2 separate regions of the Homo sapiens genome follow, and region 2 is linked to region 1. The links are contacts of gene promoters, found by promoter capture Hi-C in blood cells and fetal thymus (Javierre and others, 2016). All regions are on one chromosome and are shown on one strand. The core of a region is centred on a gene start or on the middle of the fragment in contact, and the rest is flanking DNA. Distances in the headings are between cores, read along the strand shown. Region 1 holds the start of FTMT (ferritin mitochondrial). Region 2 has its middle 320 kb from the start of PRR16.

Evidence for each region. The method cuts DNA at HindIII sites, captures the fragments that hold promoters and counts their contacts. A CHiCAGO score of 5 or more calls a contact.
Region 2: a fragment that was not itself captured here is called in contact with the fragment with the promoter of FTMT in region 1 in 1 of 17 cell types (erythroblasts); the score reaches 6.3 in erythroblasts.

Annotation. Positions count from the first base shown.
Region 1 is chr5:121,849,903-121,853,997 of GRCh38, forward strand. It overlaps FTMT (ferritin mitochondrial), which reads left to right and starts at 1,980. Exons shown (of 1, transcript NM_177478.2): 1 at 1,980-2,931. The coding sequence starts at 2,062. The coding sequence ends at 2,790. The region is part of intron 3 of LOC105379149 (a long non-coding RNA gene); the gene reads left to right. The HindIII fragment of the contact is 4,461 bases long and covers 1-3,436 here.
Region 2 is chr5:120,782,104-120,786,164 of GRCh38, forward strand. It overlaps a transcript of PRR16 not described here. Among named protein-coding and RNA genes, the nearest start is that of PRR16, 320 kb to the left of the region's middle. The HindIII fragment of the contact is 3,521 bases long and covers 1-3,049 here.

The sequences.
Region 1 (4,095 bases), core at 730-3,229:
GAAAGTAATATAGACACAGTAATATACAGATAACATAAAGAAGACCTAAACAGAAGCAGTGCTAATATCAAAGACAGATAATAACCATAAGAATCAAACAACCATAACAAAAACAAATAGCTCAATATATGAATGGACAAAGATTTGAATATACACTTCACCAAGAATATGTGGTTGACAGAAGGCAGGTGCAAACATACTTCAATGCAAATTAAAAACACATTGAAACACCAGCACACAGTCATTAGAAATTTTTAAATTTTAATTAAAATTAAATGACTGACAATACCATGTGTAAGCATAAAATGTGAAGGAACTTGAACTCTTAACACTCTGCTGATGGGAATGTAAAATGCCATAATCACCTTGGAAAACAGTTTGGAAATTTCTTTAAAAAGTAAACATATACCTATCATGTAATCCGGCTTTTCCTACAAGGTATTTTATCAAGAGAAATGAGAGCATCTGACCACAGAAAGACTTGTACAGGAATGTCTATAACGACTTCATTTTAATAGCCAAAAACTATAACAACAAAAATGTCCATCATCAGATGAAAGGATAAACGAATTGTGGTATATCCATACAATGGAATACTACTCAGCAATAAAAGGAACTACTGAAACAAGATACAGTGTGGATGGAACCTAAAATAATTACACTGACTAAAAGAAAGCAAGTAAAAAGGAGCACATACTGTTGACTCTATTCACATGAACTATCCGCAACTGCAGTTTATTGTATGTCAATTATATATCTCTATATAAAGCTGTTTTATATGTCTGTATTCGCTTTTGTGGGTCTGTAATACACGTTTTTCATTTTTTTAAACCTCTGAGCATTACCATCAACATTTTAACAATAGTAATCTCGGCAGAAGACGAATTAGGGTTGTTTTGAACTTTCTTCTGCGTGCTTACCCTTTTTTCTTCAGTACCCTGCAACAATTACATAAATACTATTTTAACACTAAATGCTATTTAAAGTTTAATTTTTAAAGAGCTATTTTAAGAGGATATAATCTCTGCACTAAGAAAAGATGGGAAAGTAACATATTTTGAGTTCAGAGGCATTTTATTCCTCCTAGGGTTTCTACGGTATCTCATTTCTCATTCTTTCTTTCTTTTTTCTTTTTTTTTTTTTTTTTGAGACGGAGTCTTGCTCTGTCGCCCAGGCTGGAGTGCAGTGGCTCGATCTCGGCTCACTGCAAGCTCCGCCCCCCGGGTTCACGCCATTCTCCTGCCTCAGCCTTCCAAGTAGCTGGGACTACAGCAGCCTGCCACCACGCCCGGCTAATTTTTTGTGTTTTTAGTAGAGACGGGGTTTCACCGTGTTAGCCAGGATAGTCTCGATCTCCTAACCTTGTGATCCGCCCGCCTCGGCCTCCCAAAGGCGTGAGCCACGGCACCCGGCCTACAGTATCTCATTTCTTTACAATGAAGATACATTTTATGTTTAAAAATAAACTATGCATGTATTTTAAAAGAAACAGAGTCTTAAAAATTTTCCCACTATGCTGGCAATTGTTTCCACACTTACATGTTAAATAACCAGTTAATTTATGTACACTTGCTTTGGATGTGGACCTTTATTCTCACAGGTAAATTGGTGACTTTTGGTTCACCCTTTTCACTGTGTTGCCAGTCCAACTCTTGGTCCTTATGAAAAGGTCAGAGAAGAAGGGGGAGTACAGCTTGGTCCCTTCTTTGGGAAGTCCCAGGGCCTACTCTCCTGACAGCCTTTTTAACGCAGGTGAAATCAGTGACAATCGCCAAAGAGCAGAAATCTCACGTCGTCGGTGGGGGCGAATGCTCACGGAATCGTGACTGGGCATCTGCGCTGGCCTCCGCCTAGACTGCGCCCCACGCGGGTCCCCAGAGCCCCCGGCGGCGCTTCCCCAGCGCCCTCCGCGTGGAACCCCGCGCCTCTGGAACAGAAGGGGCGTGTGACGCAGTCACCGTTGCCTAGGGCCACGTTCTGATCAGATCTGACGCCTCCAGCGCCCGACCCCACGCCAAGAGGGCCGGGCCTCAGTTTCCCCACTTCCAAGGAGGCGGCGCTATGCTGTCCTGCTTCAGGCTCCTCTCCAGGCACATCAGCCCTTCGCTGGCGTCTCTGCGCCCGGTGCGCTGCTGCTTCGCGCTCCCGCTGCGTTGGGCCCCGGGGCGCCCCTTGGACCCCAGGCAGATCGCCCCCCGCCGCCCCCTGGCCGCAGCCGCCTCCTCCCGGGACCCTACCGGGCCCGCCGCCGGCCCCTCTCGGGTGCGCCAGAACTTCCACCCCGACTCCGAGGCTGCCATCAACCGCCAGATCAACCTCGAGCTCTATGCGTCCTACGTGTACTTGTCCATGGCCTATTACTTCTCCCGGGATGACGTGGCCTTGAACAACTTCTCCAGGTATTTCCTTCACCAGTCCCGGGAGGAGACCGAGCACGCGGAGAAGCTGATGAGGCTGCAGAACCAGCGAGGAGGCCGGATCCGCCTGCAGGACATCAAGAAGCCGGAACAGGACGACTGGGAAAGCGGGCTGCATGCCATGGAGTGTGCTCTACTCTTGGAAAAGAACGTGAACCAGTCGTTGCTGGAATTGCACGCTCTAGCCTCAGATAAAGGTGACCCCCATTTGTGCGATTTCCTGGAAACCTACTACCTGAATGAGCAGGTGAAGTCTATCAAAGAACTAGGTGACCACGTGCACAACTTAGTGAAGATGGGGGCCCCGGATGCTGGCCTGGCGGAGTACCTTTTTGACACACATACCCTTGGAAATGAAAACAAGCAGAACTAAGCCACGAGCTGCCTTCCTCCCAGGCTAGTGGATCCAAAGACCAAAGTCAGCTGTCTCCTGCTTTCTTGCCCTTAAAATCACCTCCATCTTTATATTCTTCTGTTATACTATTCCTCCAATAAAGTGATTTGTAGAAAAAAATGTTTTGCCCATGTTTAACAAGGGCTTTTTACTAACCATCAAGGCAGTTATTTTCCCAGGCTCGAAGATAGCACAGGTAACTATGGTATAGAAAAAGACTCCAAAAAGCTACTGAAAGAGGGTGCAAACTAACGTTCTCCAGTTGCCAAGTATTATCAGAATATGAACCTACACTTAAATTCTGTGATTTTTAATTCAACAAGTGCCTGCCATATTCAATACCTTATGCAAAACGCTAAAGTGGGAAAATGGATAAAAATATACAAATAACTATAAGTGAAGAATATTTAGTACTGTGAAAATTATACATGCAAAAATGCTATGACAGCTTTTGCCTTTTCCCAGTGTGTCCCAAGAAGCAGTACTGTCTGGAGATCGTTTTTTAAAAGAATTCGTAGTCAAATTTGGGATAAGCTACATGAATTATCAGTGTTAGTCTTGGAAAATCACAGCATATATTAACATTTTAAGGGCTCTGGGAAGTTTTGCAGTTAATAAATATAAAAGCTTTAATTATTTTTGTTTAGCTCAGTGTTTTCCAAACATATGCAATCTCAGTGTTTTGTTGTTTTAATGTTGGTAATATAACAAACCAGACCTGATTCCACACTCTATATACTTCACCATTGAGTCTCTCTTTTAACCTGCCAAGAAGAGTGAAAACACTGCATAAAACACCTTTCTGTGGTCTTTAAAATGGACAGAAAAGAACATGGGGGTTTAAAAAGTCAAGAAGGGATCCAGAATAGAGGAGGCATCTAGTCAGGTAGATGTTTTCTTTAGGCATGGAAGTGAGGAGTGGGAGAGTCCAGCATTGGAATAGACTAGAACACTGAGTGGTGATTGGAAAGATGAGCTGCGGCAGAGTACAGAGGTGAGAAGGGTTTGGGCTTAATTCAGGGGACAAAAGCAAGGTCTTCAAAGGCTCTTAACAGAAGAAAACAGTGCTCAAAATGGAGCAATCTGAGGCTTAGTCTGGTTATACAGAATAAGAATCTGAAAACAACCTAAATATCTCTGTTAGTTTGGGTTTTCTGAAACACTGATGCCAAAATGGGATTAAGTGTACAAGAAATTAGGGGAAACAGACCTCTGAGAGAAAATGGAAAAGCAGCAAGTGGGAGAAGCAGGGAGAGCCTTCAGACTTCATGCAAATGTAATCCC
Region 2 (4,061 bases), core at 39-2,538, 1.1 Mb before region 1:
ACCCACAATAAACCATAATACCAATCTAAACTGAGTGTGTGGTTGGTGTTATTTTGGACTTTAATGTAAAAGTTTGGAGTGGGACAGATTAAACCATCAATTTGCAACAGACTTGCAGGATTAGCTTCATTAAGTGTGTGACCAGTTGACCAGTGCATTTGCACAGGCCCCTGTGCTCAGTGTTCAGAAGTACCCCCCTCCAAAACCACAATCCCTCCATACATGCAGCCCACCCTCATAACTGCACCCCATGGCACTTGGGGTTTTATTAAGGTCTACAGTCACCATCTTGATGATTTTAATTGTTTTATCTTTCAAATTGTGTTTTAAAAGTGAAGCCTGATGGGACAGTGACACGTGACTAGGATCTCAGCGCTTCCCCTCGGGGTTGGTTCCACATTTCCCTGGATAAGTTCCTGGCTACCTATTTTCCCTCCCATATGCTGCTTCCCTCTATCTCAGTGGGGACCAAAGCACTGCAGTCATAAGTTACAAGGTAGGGCTCCAGGGATTGTGAAGGTCTGTGTTCACTCTGTAAGCATCCCTGTGTCCAGTGGAACAGGCATTAAGTGGTACATCTAGAGAGACTGGATGAGAAAGAAAGAGCTTTTATCCTGCTTTTTCAAACAAACAGAGCCCTGAATTTTATTTTTCTTTGGGCCCTGCAAATTTTGTGGCTGGTCCTGGTAATTTGGAACTAATGTTAATGTATATAACTGTCTGAACCCACCAGTTCAGATGAGAAGGGCAATTCTGAAGTGCATTATTTTTCAGGGTATCAGGTGCTTACTTTAGAAAATGACCATCTAATCTTAAAGATTTAAATTGTCATCTCTCTAAGTTGTTGCTTGTCAGGCAGATGCACACTTACTAAATATCCTCAATATAAGAAGAACTTACTCAAAGTTCATGCAGTATGTCTTGCTGGTGGATGTACAGATTCCTTAGGCAGTGCTCGCACTGCTCTCAGACTCAGGAAAACAGGTGCAGCCATCAGAATCACAATTGCATTTTAGAAAATGTCATATATAATTCATAAGAAAGAATTATTTGTGTTAACTTAGAACCAATGATAGAATTAGTAATATCATTTTCTTCACATTACAATAATCATTTTCAATGTGATTTACTCAGTATTCATAGTTTGCGAAGCATGAAATGAAACGTTTTTTCTAAAGCAGCTATTTAATCAGACTTAAAGATTACAATGAAGTGCACCCATAAATGACTTTTTCTAATTCAATCATAGGTATTTAATTCTATATATATCCACATAATAGCCAAAACAAACTTCTCAAAACTTAGAACTGATACATGGGCAGAAAGTAGAACGTACTAGATAGGTAGAATGGCATCATGTTTTAAAAACTGCATTGAGATCATTTTCTCTGTCTACCTAGGATGCTTCCCTCAACTTTCTTTTTTCAAACTGGTAATATGCTGCCTATCTATCTTTTAAAAAAATTTAAATTGTTTTAATTTTTATGAGTACATAATAGTTGTATGTATTTAAGGGGTATGTGAAATATTTTGATAGAAGTGTACAATGTATTATGCTCAAATTAGGGTATCTGGACACCCATCACCTAAAACATTTATCATGTTTTTGTGTTGGGAACATTCCAAACCCACTCTAGTTATTTGGAAATATACAATAATTTATTGTTAACTATAGTCACTCTACTGTGCTACCAAACACTAGATCTTATTCTTACAATCTAACTGAATTTTTGTACCCATTTACCAACCCCTTTTTCCCCCCATTCCCACTACCCATACCAGCCTCTGGTAATCATCATTCTACTTTCCACCTTCATAAGATAATTTTTTAAGCTCCCACCTATGAACGAGAACATGTGTATTTGTCTTGCTGTGGCTGGCTTATTTCACTTGACATAATGTCCTCCAGTTCCAACCATGTAATTACAAAGGATATCTTTCTACTTTATGGCTGAATAATATTTCATTGTATATATGTTCTACTTTTTCTTATCCATTCATTGGTTGATGGACATTTATATTTATTTCATATCTTGGCTATTGTGAGTAGTGCTGCAATAAACATGGGAGTGCAGATATCTCTTAATATACTGAATTTCTTTCTTTTGGAGCTATATACACAGCAGTGGAATTGCTGGATCATGTGGTAGTTCTACTGTTAGTTTTTTGAGGATTCTTCATACTATTTTTCATAATGGCTATACCAATTTACATTCCTACCAACAGTGTACGAGCTTTACTTTATCTACATCTTTGCTAGCATTTATTATTTTCTCTATTTCATAAAAACCATTTTTAACTGGAGTGAAATGATATCTCATTGTGGTTTTAATTTGCATTTCTCTGATGATTATATATGTTGAGCATATTTTGTATATGCCTGTTGGCAAAGAGACAACCTATAGAATGGGAGAAAATATTTGCAAACTATTCAACTCACAATAATCTATAAGGAACTCAATAACCAGAATATGTAAGAAACTCAAAAAACTCAATAGCAAAAAAATCTGAATAAAAATGGGCAAGAGATCGGAGTAGACATTTCTCAAAGACGAAATACCTGTCTTAAGAGCTAGATTAAATATAATTTTTATCCATGAAAGCTCTTTGAAACTTTTTTCCCAGGTCTCAAGGAAACTTTTGCTCAACTCTCTATTATAGCACGTTTTACATTTTTTGCTAATTCTTCCTAGAAGAATGACATTGAACATCTTATTCAAAATTCTCTCTTCTCTTAGAATCACAAAACCATGGGCTCATTATGACCAGGACAGGAATATCCATGGCACCATCCTAATGGTTCTCAGGTGTTAGGTGTATCTTTAAACTATGTAACTAGTTGCAGGTGCTACACAGGCTACTCCACACCTAGCCTGACCACCCGCTGCTATTAGATGAAACCAGTAACATTTTGATAAGTGCAAATAAAAGGAATCTCTCCCTGTGTATAACATCCAGTAGTTGTAGGCTCAACTGAACAATCTCACATGACTACAGTAGGCCACACTTGCTAATGGCTTCATTAGAATAATACAAATATCATAAACAAAGCTTGCCAGTAAGGCAGTATTGGTTATTTTTTTTCCATGAGAGTTTTGACAAGTGTCTAGGGCTACAACCTTTTTCTAACTCTGCAAAGTGACAAGTATGAAAGATGGAGACCATACGTGGGTATGAGAGTTATCCTGGCTGACACTTAGGTCCCAAATAGGAATCAGTATCTATTATAACAGCCCATAAGCAAAGAACATGACCAATTACAAGAATGCCCAGCATCAAGAAAGCTCATCTCATCATGACGCCTTATTTCAGTGGGAAAGCTTTGACTGCCTTTCATTTTCTTTTGTTGGTATTGATTAAATGTTTCCTAAGGCAAAGTTAGTAATTTATATTTTTCTATCAGATTAATTATTTGATTTACTTGTACACATAGAAGTCTCTGTGTATGTGTGTGTGTGTTTTGTTGTTGTTGTTTTTTTTTTTTTTTGAGACAGAGTCTTTCTCTGTCACCCAGGCTGGAGTGCAGTGGCGCGATCTCAGCTCACTGCAACCTCCTCCTTCCAGGTTCAAGCAATTCTCCTGCCTCAGCCTTCTCAGTAGCTGGGACTACAGGACCTGCTACCATGCCTGGCTAGTTTTTGTATTTTTAGTAGAGGCGGGGTTTCACCATATTGGGCAGGCTGGTCTCGAACTCCTGACCTGTGATCCGTCCGCCTCGGACTCCCAAAGTGCTGGGATTACAGATGTGAGCTACCGCGCCTGGCCTAGAAGTCTCTTAAATGCTCTTTTTTCCTGATTTCTAAAGTTACCCATTTGCTTTTTATGTTTTTCTTTTTATTCTTCCATGGCAATATATATATTTTAGTCATTCTTTAAAAAAAAAAGATTTTAAAAAATCAAGTTTTTCATTTTTTGTAGCTTTGCTAGTTTTTATTAATTTTTAAATTTTCATTAGTATTTCACAGTTTGTGGAAGAAAGCTTTTGTTTTTTTTTTTTGGTTTCTTGGGTTAAATGCATACCTGTTATGTTGAATTTTATTGTTTTATGAGTCACAAAATCT